Linked DNA regions of Homo sapiens: region 1 is linked to region 2. The links are contacts of gene promoters, found by promoter capture Hi-C in blood cells and fetal thymus (Javierre and others, 2016). All regions are on one chromosome and are shown on one strand. The core of a region is centred on a gene start or on the middle of the fragment in contact, and the rest is flanking DNA. Distances in the headings are between cores, read along the strand shown.

Evidence for each region. The method cuts DNA at HindIII sites, captures the fragments that hold promoters and counts their contacts. A CHiCAGO score of 5 or more calls a contact.
Region 1: a contact is called between the fragment with the promoter of KRTCAP2 here and the fragment with the promoter of EFNA4 in region 2, in 2 of 17 cell types (megakaryocytes and endothelial precursors). The highest score is 5.3, in megakaryocytes.

Annotation. Positions count from the first base shown.
Region 1 is chr1:155,171,370-155,176,375 of GRCh38, reverse strand. KRTCAP2 (keratinocyte associated protein 2) reads left to right here and starts at 3,072. Exons shown (of 5, transcript NM_173852.4): 1 at 3,072-3,155; 2 at 3,484-3,638; 3 at 3,748-3,811. The coding sequence starts at 3,152. TRIM46 (tripartite motif containing 46) reads right to left here and starts at 2,527. Exons shown (of 10, transcript NM_025058.5): 1 at 2,347-2,527; 2 at 729-990; 3 at 145-488. The coding sequence starts at 2,409. RefSeq lists silencers at 1,989-2,283, 2,453-2,542 and enhancers at 2,292-2,800, 2,873-2,922, 3,123-3,222, 2,801-3,309, 3,413-3,692. The HindIII fragment of the contact is 8,946 bases long and covers 1-3,218 here.
Region 2 is chr1:155,062,490-155,067,300 of GRCh38, reverse strand. It overlaps EFNA4 (ephrin A4), which reads right to left and starts at 3,561. Exons shown (of 4, transcript NM_005227.3): 1 at 3,365-3,561; 2 at 285-571. The coding sequence starts at 3,477. It overlaps ADAM15 (ADAM metallopeptidase domain 15), which reads right to left. Exons shown (of 23, transcript NM_207197.3): 23 at 4,526-4,811. The coding sequence ends at 4,799. It overlaps EFNA4-EFNA3 (EFNA4-EFNA3 readthrough), which reads right to left and starts at 3,561. Exons shown (of 5, transcript NM_001407761.1): 1 at 3,365-3,561. The coding sequence starts at 3,477. It overlaps DCST1-AS1 (DCST1 antisense RNA 1), which reads left to right and starts at 3,310. Exons shown (of 4, transcript NR_040773.1): 1 at 3,310-3,544. It also overlaps ADAM15-EFNA4. RefSeq lists an enhancer at 2,109-2,610 and silencers at 3,101-3,250, 3,541-3,690, 4,071-4,160. The HindIII fragment of the contact is 1,420 bases long and covers 2,293-3,712 here.

The DNA.
Region 1 (5,006 bases), core at 1,823-4,322, 110 kb before region 2:
TGACTTTGTGACAGATTACAGAGATAGGTGCTTAGCATTGGAAAACCCTTCCCACTTCCTTTTGGAAACCCACAATGCCAGGCACCCCCACCCACCTGCAGCAGCATGTCCCTCCCTCCCCAGGCCTTGGAAGGGCTGGCTCACCTTGGGTCGGAAGGAGAGGGTAGGCAGGGTGGGCTCATGCTGGGCCTTCTGGGTGCCCCAGGGGTGGAAGAGCTTGAAGCACTCATTGCAGAAGGTGGCGCGGCACTCTGTGCAGCCCTTGGTGGCCTCTAGTGGTGGGGGCTTGCACAACTGGCACAGGATGGCACCTCCCACACTCACACTCTGGCGGTACCGCTCCACCACACGCTCCAGGGTCAGGTTCCGGAAAAGCCCTGCCAGACCCCGCTCCCCAAGCTCCACATCACCTTGGCAGGCTGGGCACGGGAACATGATCACTTGGGGGTGCAAAGCACCTCGCTTCCTCCCAGGGTATGTCCCAAAGCCTGTGGGTGAACCAGGGAGGTAGAGGACATGAGAGTTACAGCTGGCTGGGTGTGGGGAAGCCTGTTTAATTAAATTAGATTTTCATTGTGCCAGAGCTCAGCTCTCATTAGAGCCTGCGTAAGCAGTATCTCCACCCCCCAGAAAGACAGACAGATGCCTCTGACCAGTGATGGACTTCTTCCATCTTCCTGATGAATAGCTCAGCGTTCCCATCCCCACCCTACAGGCCCCAGTCCCACCTGACTTAAGCAGCCGGTCCAGGCGGTCTGGCTTGGGGAGAGTTCTGCGGGAGAGGCGGGGGCTGCGGGTGGAAGGGGTGGAGGCAGGAGAGGTGGGCTCGGAGCTGGGGTCCCCACCATGTCCTATGTAGCCCTGCTGGCCCAAGACCTCTCGGGCACAGGCCTGGCACACGTTGTGGGTACAGGGCAGCACCAGTGGCTGCTTGTACATCTCTTGACACACTGGGCACAGCAGTTCCTTCTCCATGTTCTTCATGCTGGTCTGTGGAGGGACCAGGAGGCTAGGTCAGCGCTTGGACACTTAGGCATACCTCAGCAGCCCCTTGGCTGCCCTTGGATACCCTAGGGGTCTGAGGAAGGAGCAAGACAAGCTACCTGCAGCTTTTCCAGAGCACCTGCCTTGGGCTGGTTCACAGACCTTCCCAGACCTCTGTCCCTTGCTTCTCTTTCCCCGCTGCAGAGCTAAAGGCCCAGAGGAGGGACGGTTGGAGCTTGTGCCTGCTCCAGCCTCAAGCCCAATCCCCATTTCTCCAGCTGCAGTAGCCCCAGCTGGCAGCCCCCTCACCTGCCTCCATCCCCCATCTCTGGGCAGCTTGCCCCTGGCATTTTTCTCAAGGACACCGCCCATTCTGCAGCTCCATGCAGACCCCCACTCCCTTCTCTAGCAGCACCCCCATGCCGTGATTCCTCCCGATAGCCAGGCGAGGTTGGCACTCCATCCTGCTCGCTCCATACGTCCTCCTGCCGCAGCTCCGGCCTGCGGCCACTCCAGCCTCCATTCCCCATCCTTCACTTCCCCATCGGTCTTACCAACCCATTCCCCTTCGCCCCCATCAGGCCCTCCCGCCCTCTCCCGCAGCGCAACCCGGTCAGCGGCACCCCCTTCTCCGAACTAGCGGGGGAATCAAGAGCCCCGCCTACTCGCCCCCTCCCCACCGGAAGTCCCCTCCCCCTCTTGGTGGCGAGAGTGGGGGTCCTCAGGCTATGCCCCACCCCCACACCTCACCTTGGTCCCTCTCTTCGCAGCCATCCCGGTCAGGGGCGCAGCTGACACAAAGGAGGGAGGAACAAGGAGGGGGGGAGGAAGTGGTGGGGGGGAACACGGTTGGCACCGCCCCTGGGAGAGCCAGGCACGGGTTGCCATGACAACCGCAGGCTCGGAAGCAGCCCTGAGTGGGGGTGCGTGGGGTGGGGTCTTGGGGAGGGGTCCAAATTGGGAACTGCACTGTGGGGCGGCTCCTACATCATCCCCCACCTGTCCTCAGTTTTCTTGGAAAATATCCAAGCTCACACGTCCCTCTTCTCATAACAGGGCCTTTCCCCTGAAGCCCCAGCCCCGGTGCACTGCTGGAGGCCACCCCAGCCCACCCGCTGCGTCTGGGCTGCTCCTAGCTCCTCCTCACGCTCCAGCACACCGACGCCTTCACGGCACTCACCTCCGGGCTGCTCCCGGGATTACCCTCTCATACCTGCATCCCGACCCTCCCAGCCGTTTCTGCCATCGCTAGCCCCCTGTCTACATCCCAGCATCTTCCTGGATCCCCACCTGTTCCAGGTCCCAGCTTGCCCCAGAACCCTATACGCCCCCTCCCCTTCCCTCGACCCCACCTTAACTCACACTGATGCGGACCAGTGCGTCCATGATGGAAGTGAAGGTCTGCATATCCTCACCCTCTGCCATGGCCCTACCGTGCCCGCCCGCCCCTGGGTGCCCGATCCCGGCTGCGGCTGCGAACCCCGGGCTTAATGCAGGAGCCCAGTGGGGGTGTGAGGAGGGCTGGGGGTTGAGGTGTCACTGCGCATGCTCCCGGGACCAGCCTCGAACAGCGCCCGTCGGGGTAGGGGGTGGGAAATAGTTCTCCCCACGTGGTTCTCGAAAGCCGGTCGGGGGGTTGGGGAATATGGAAAGGTATTTGACGGGGGAGCCATTTCTTACATTCTCATTTTTCATTGGCTCCTAATTTTACTCATATAAAGCGGGGGATTAGTTTCGGAGGAAAATGAGTTCCTGGTTGGGAGCACTAAATTTTAGGTTGGGAGATGTTGAGGCATGGGGCAGGGAGGTTTGAGGAACGTGCACTAGAGATGAAAGAAATGGCAAAGAAGACAGAGATGGGATAGATGCCACAGGCATGGGCCCAATGACTTAAAGAGATAAGTGCACCTTGTACAGAGTGGCAGCAGACGCACCAGGTACGAGGAAAGCCTGAGGACCAGGGCGGTGGCCGAGGATGCCCCCTCGACGCATTATTTCCTCCCTGTCGCAAGAGGGCGCTGCGTCCAGGCACTGAGAGGAAGAAAGAGGAGAACGCGAGGAGTAGCAAGTCCGCGGTAAGCGCTGACGCATGCGCATAGCTAACCGCACCCGGTTCAGCTCGCCTTTCTTGGCCAGAGGCGCCGGTTGGACTCACGGGCGGGGCATGATGGGTAACAGGACCGGTGGGGTCCCCAGGAAGTCCTAGAGGGGGTCGGGGTTTGGGTGGACAAGCTTTCCTCGTCCTCTCCCGACAGAGCTGACGTGTCCTGGGTTCCACCGGGAGCGGGCATTTCCACCGGACGGGAGGGTTCGGGGTGTCCGGGGCTGGGGAATACGTAGGGGTTGCCGCGCGGTGTGGGGAGTTGGGGCGTGTGGCTGCAGTCCCGGGAGTTCTTGGAGGGGGTCGGCCCACCGAGCTTCCGGACCGGCTGATCTGCCCGTAGCTTGCCGGAGGGAGGGCGGAGCCTGACTCTCCGTCCCTTCTCCCATCCCCTCCAGTGGTGGGTACGGGCACCTCGCTGGCGCTCTCCTCCCTCCTGTCCCTGCTGCTCTTTGCTGGGATGCAGATGTACAGCCGTCAGCTGGCCTCCACCGAGTGGCTCACCATCCAGGGCGGCCTGCTTGGTTCGGGTCTCTTCGTGTTCTCGCTCACTGTATCCTCCCTGCAGTTGGAGGGGGCGGGCCACGTAGGCATGTGCCCTTCCCCTTCCCCACACAGCTCTGTCCCCGTTGCACACCCTACTCCTTAACTCCCTCAACCAGGCCTTCAATAATCTGGAGAATCTTGTCTTTGGCAAAGGATTCCAAGCAAAGATCTTCCCTGAGAGTAAGTGAATATTGGAGCTTGAGTATTTGAACTTTCTCCTCTTTAACCTCCTGAAACATGATATTGAATTTCCAGATGCTTAGGTGAAAGGTTGTTAAGGAGAAATATATTTACTGAAGCTGTCTGAAGACAGATGACGCTTTTCGATTCTGCACCTTGTATAGCTCCTGGAGTTGGAGCTGGAAGAGAAGGCCTTTGAAAGCAAGAAACTTTGGTACCTTCTGGCCAGCTCCCAGGGAAGGTTTGAGGGGAACAGGCAAATTTGGGCTGATGTTTTGCATCTATTCGCTGGGAGGCGGTCCTTGTTCCCACCAGAAGAAGCAGCAGGACCAAGTTCACTATGGAGTTCTGATGTGAAGTTAACTCAATATTAGAGAATTCTACTTATTTGAGGGAATTGTGAAGAGCCTAAATACTAGAGGCACCAAATATCTATGGCAGCAGGAATCCTGACCAAATCAGAATAACTGTTAGATTATTTCCTGTTTGGAATAATTCTTGTTCAATTGCTCATGTAATCAAGAATTGATGATTCAGTTATTTATGGAGAATTAAGTTTATAAAGCAAATTAAGTGTCAAGGCCAGATTACTTAAGGAATGCCACGTGCTCAGAAATTCACAGCAGATGCAATCTCATGTAAAACCCTCATGTGGTAAAACAAAGATCTATCATGGTTGCCCTTAATCTTTTCTCTTTTTTTTTTTTTTTTTTTTTTGAGACAAGGCTTTACTCTGTCGCCTAGGCTGGAGTGCAGGGATGTGATCACTGAAGCCTTGACCTGGTCTCAAGCAATCTTCCCTCCTCAGTCTTACCAGTAGCTGGGACTACCAGTGAGTGCCACCACACCCAGCTACTGTTTTAAGTTTTTGTAGAGATGGGGTTTCACCACATTGCCCAGGCTGGTCTCGAACTCCTGGGCTCAAGTGATCCTCCTATTTCAGCCTCCCAGAGTGCTGGAATTACAGGTGTGAGCCACTGTGCCTGGCTGCCCTCATTTCTTTGCCCCCCTCTAGGACTTGCTTTCTCCGCATAGCCCTTTTGCAGGCTTCAGAGTTCTTTCCATCCAGTAGCCCCGGGACTTCTCTCTGTTAGGTTTTGTTTCCATATGTATTACCTTCACTTGCTTCTTTTTTTTTTTTTTTTTGAGATGGAGTCTCGCTCTGTCACCCATGCTGGAGTACAGTGGTGTGAAC
Region 2 (4,811 bases), core at 2,312-4,811:
CCCTCCCAGGTTTTCTTCTCTCCAGGTCCCTGGAAAGCGTTTCCTTACTTTGGGGCCACACCCATGTATCAGGCCCCATCCAGTCCTCTCATCTCCCTGGCCCCCTTTCCTAGCTCCTCCTACTTTCTCCTTTCTAGACATTTCCCTCCTCAGTCCTGAGTTCAGCCCATACCTCAACCCGATGTACATTAGAGACCCAGCCCCCTCCTCCTTCCAGGCCTCTCCTTCCCCCTCCCTACCCTTCTGGTACACAAGAGGTGTCCAGTGTGCCCTTGGCCACTCACAGATGTAGTAGTAAGTCTCTCCAGGTAAGAACTCAAAGCCGAGGGAGAAGGGTGTGAAGCGCTGAATCTTCTCTGAGAATTGAACATGGCCAAAGGGCAGGGAGCACACCCAGCGCTTGTAGGCCCGGGGGCCCTCTGCCTGGCAGGACTCATAGCCTGGCCAGTCCACCATGTACAAAGCAAACGTCTCGGGGCCCTCAGGGGGCCCTGGGCCTTCGTAGTGGGGGCAGACAATGTCTAGGTAATCGTTGAGGCCCAGCTCCACCACGGCGTCTCCTCGAAGCAACCTGCAGGCATAACGCAGGGGTGGGCTGAGGAGTGGAGGGCACCACGCCATGGCCATGGATGCCAGAGACACCCCTTCTCAGAGGCCCCTGCCAGCCTCTCCTCCACCCATGTGCGATGGAGCAGCTCAGGAAGGCCCGAGGTTCCCAGACTGACAACTCTTGAGAGACAAAGAGAGTGCAAGAAATGGATGAGATGATCGATTCACAGGTTCCGAGAGGCTAAGACCTGCAGTGCCCATAACCACACAGCTTAGATGTGAGAAGGAGGGTCACCACACCCTGTCCTACAGGCTGGAGCTGCCACACACCTCTCTAGCTCCAGTGCCCAACACTCAATGTGGTATAGCACCAGGCTTGATCAATGTCAGGTGGATGGATGCTGTGAAGAAGCTGGGCAGAGAGGCAGGAGGTACAGTTGCACACAGTGCAGCTGCAGACACAGAGGTGGAAACAGGGGTTGGGAAAGGTCTCCTCAAACAGATATAAAGTGAGGAACACTGTCCTTTAGACTGACTTCAACCCAAGGGTGAAAAGAATGTCACGGTAAAAAAAGAATGAGGGAGGCCAGGTGTGGTGGCTCACATCTGAATCCCAGCACTTTGGGAGGCCGAGGTGGGAGGATCGCTTGAGGCCAGGAGTTCAAGACCAGCCTGGGCAACATGGTGAGACTGTCTCTACCATAAATAAATAAATAGGCTGGGCGCGGTGGCTCACGCTTGTAATCCCAGCACTTTGGGAGGCTGAGGCGGGCGGATCATGAGGTCAGGAGATCAAGACCATCCTGGCTAACACGGTGAAACCCCGTCTCTACTAAGAATATAAAAAGAAAACTAGCCGGGCGTGGTGGCGGGCACCTGTAGTCCCAGCTACTTGGGAGGTTGAGGCAGGAGAATGGCGTGAACCCGGGAGGCGGAGCTTGCAGTGAGCCGAGATTGCGCCACTGCACTCCAGCCTGGGAGACAGAGCGAGACTCCATCTCAAAAAATAAATAAATAAATAAATAAATAAATAAATAAATAAATAAATAAAGGCCATGAGTGGTGGTGCACTCCTGTAGTCCCAGCTACTTGGGAGGCTGAGGCGGGAGGATCCTTAGAGTCCGCAAGTTCCTGTAGTGAGCTATTATGCCACCGCACTACAGCCTGGGTGACAGAGCAAGACCCTGTCTCTAAATTCTAAAAATTAAAAAAAAAAAAAAAAAAAGAATGAGGGAGTGGGTGCTAGGTGCCTCCCTTTTTTGGCCAGGAGGAGCAAGTGCCAGGCATGGGGGGAGTCCACATACTACCCAGTCTTCAGTCTTCTCAGGACTCCCTTCCCCACCTCTTGGGAGCTGCCTGGGGAAGCCAGCACAGGTGGGAAGGGCTGGAAGGGGCTGCTCCCCACAGTACTGAATGCTGCATGAACCACCCCCCATACCACAAACACAGCGAAGCATGACTTAGGAAAAGCCTCCAGTGGGTGGTCCAAGGACGACCTGTATCAGTTCTGATTAGAAATGAAGATTCCTGGGCTCAGCCAGCCCAGACTTACTAGAACGCAAGCTGAGCAAGGACAGGGCCTTGGTAAGTTTTGTTCTACTGCATCCCCCGTGCCTGGAAAAGTGCCCAGCACAGGACAGTGTTCAATAAATATTTGTGGATTGAATGAATGAGCCAGAAACCTTAAGATTGGGGGGTGAGAAACCTGAATTTTTAACAGGTCCTCCAAGTGATTCAGAAGCTTTGGTCTGTGACAGAGATAGAGAATTCAGAGTCCAAGGACAACAAAAGCTCTTATCACTTGTTATTGGTATTGTAATGACCTGTCTTTATGCAGGCTCTCCTGCCTGCGCCTGTTCTCCAGAGAGTCTGTGGAATCCCAGAGGGCAGGGTCTTGATCTTCTCATCTATATAGTTAATCCCCTGCAACCTAGCACAGGGCCGGGCACACACAGTATGTGTTTAATAAATAAATGTTAGTGAGTGAAGAAATGAATAGTCACAGATTGTCTCAAGTAGAAAATCAGAAAGAAAAACAGATAGGAAATAGGAGAGGCAGGGAGACTTGGGGAGGGGGATGGAAACAGTAAAATATACTAAGGTTCAAAGGCAGGCAGCTCAGGAGAGAGAAAGAAATAATAGTTTATATCTGTACAGCCTGAGCCTCTTTCACATACATGACCTCACTTACCCTGCCAGACTTCCCAGGGTACTAGGTATTATTAGCCCATTATACAGGTGAGATAAATGAGGTTAGGAAGGTCACGAGACTTGCCCAGAGGTGATTCGGCTAGAAGGGCAGGGCTGACACTGGAAAGAAACAGAAGGACCAATAAAGACAGAGATGAAAGCAGAGATAGCAAATGAGATCAGGAGACAGAGTGAGAGCCAGAGGTGAGACCCAGCGGGCAGGAGAGTAACCCACGCTCTTTCATAAGAGTAAAGCCCCCTCCCTCGCTCTCAAGTTCGTCAGCCACAGCTCCAGCCTGCGGGAGGCTGGGGATCGCCAGGAGAGCAGCGAGGGGGGCGGAGCCCGGAGTGCGGGCAAAGGCCCCCCCAGCTCCATGCTCCAAGACCCCCTAGACAACCCTTGGGGCTGGGGTCTTCTGCCTGCCCCCCAACACATGCGGGCTGTGGGGAGACCCAGGGCGCGCCTCGCCCCTCGCCCCTCCCCCCTCCCCCGCCGGCTCAAACAAAGGAGCCCCGGCGCGCGGCCAGGCTCAGGCGGCGCCGCGCAAAGAGCGGGTGGCGGGCGCGCGCAAAGCCCGGGAGCGCGCAGACTTGGCTGTGCGCTCGCCCGGTTCGGCCCGGCTACCTGGGGTTACTGGAGTTCCAGTAGACTACGTGGCGGAGGCTGGAGCCCCCGCGCAGAGGGGAGCCGAGGAACGCGGCCCAGAGGACAGTCCGCAGCAGGGGCAGCAGCCGCATCGCCCCCGAGGTCCGGTTTGGTCTGGCCTGGCAGGTCCCGGCCCGCTTCACAGTCGAGGAGAGAAAGGTACAAAGTGAAGAGGGAAGTTGCGGAAAGGGGAGTGGGGTACGGAGATTCACTGACCCCGCCCCTGAATAACTTTCCGCCAATGGGAGCGCGTCTCCTCCTCTCCACCCAGCGCCAACTCCAGTTAACCCTCTGTGCACCGCAGCGCGCGCCAGGTTCGCCAAAGCTTCCACTGAGGCTGCACCGCACTGCGAGGGGGCGGGAAGGAAGGACGTATTCCAACAGCAGTATTTTTAGGGAGGTCATCTCTTTCGTGTCTGCTTTAGTGCAGGGTAGACTGCCTTATTAGAAGTTTGGAAGATTTTAAATAAGGGTACATAACCTTTGCCCAGATAGGGGAAAGTGAGGCGCGGGCGAGGATCCATGAAGCCTGTCCAACCACCTTCATGCACTGCCCCGTTTTCTTTGCACATCTAGGGACAGTGCAAGCGGAAGGGACAACACAGCTCTGGGACCACCTTCCCTAAAGAGCCTTAGGTGGCGCGCTAGATGCTCACTTTAGGATTGGCGTCTGTCCCTTGCCGCTCCACACCTTCGTTCCGGGCTGGGGGCCCACGCGGCCCCAGTCCCTAAGACGAAGTAATGAGGTGGTTGCGGCCTGTACAAAGCACCTTTGTTCCCGATCCCTCAGGTGGCGGCGGCGGAGGGGGAGGAGGCAGGTGCGCGGCCTTGGGATCGTGGGAGCAGCCGCCGCCCCGCTCCGCCCTGGCTCCTGGGCTCTGGGAGCATCAGCCAGATCCACTTTTCCCAGCCAATGGTCAGAGTGGGGACGGCAGGTCCAACAGCTTGACAGATTGCGCCGAAAGCCACCCCAGTCTGGGCAGAGGGAAGCTGCGAGCATCCCGGGGACACACGCCGACCCTTTCTGGTACTCCCGCCCCACACAGCCCGCCCTCGTCTGAGGCGGCAGCGTCTTCTGGCGGCCAAACCTGGAACCGCAGCAGGAGCGACCCGGGTTCTAGAAGCAGACAAACTCTGGGGAACGCTCCCAAGATGTCACGTTTATTGCAACTGAGCAGAGACAGGCTGTGCGGACCTTCCTCAATCCCGTCCAACCCCCAGCCCCTCCCCAAGCCCCCGCTGCAACTACGCCGGCAGGTCCGCAGAGTGTTGCTTGACAGCGCGTGGCGGTGCCCGGAGTCTTAAGACACCGCCAGTCTCTGGCGCCTTCAGTCATGGTAGGGGACTCCAGAGGGCACGCCCGCCTCTTGAAGCCCTAAGTCCGGCTTGGAGGCAGCGGAACCTCCGGAGAGGTCAGAGGTAGAGC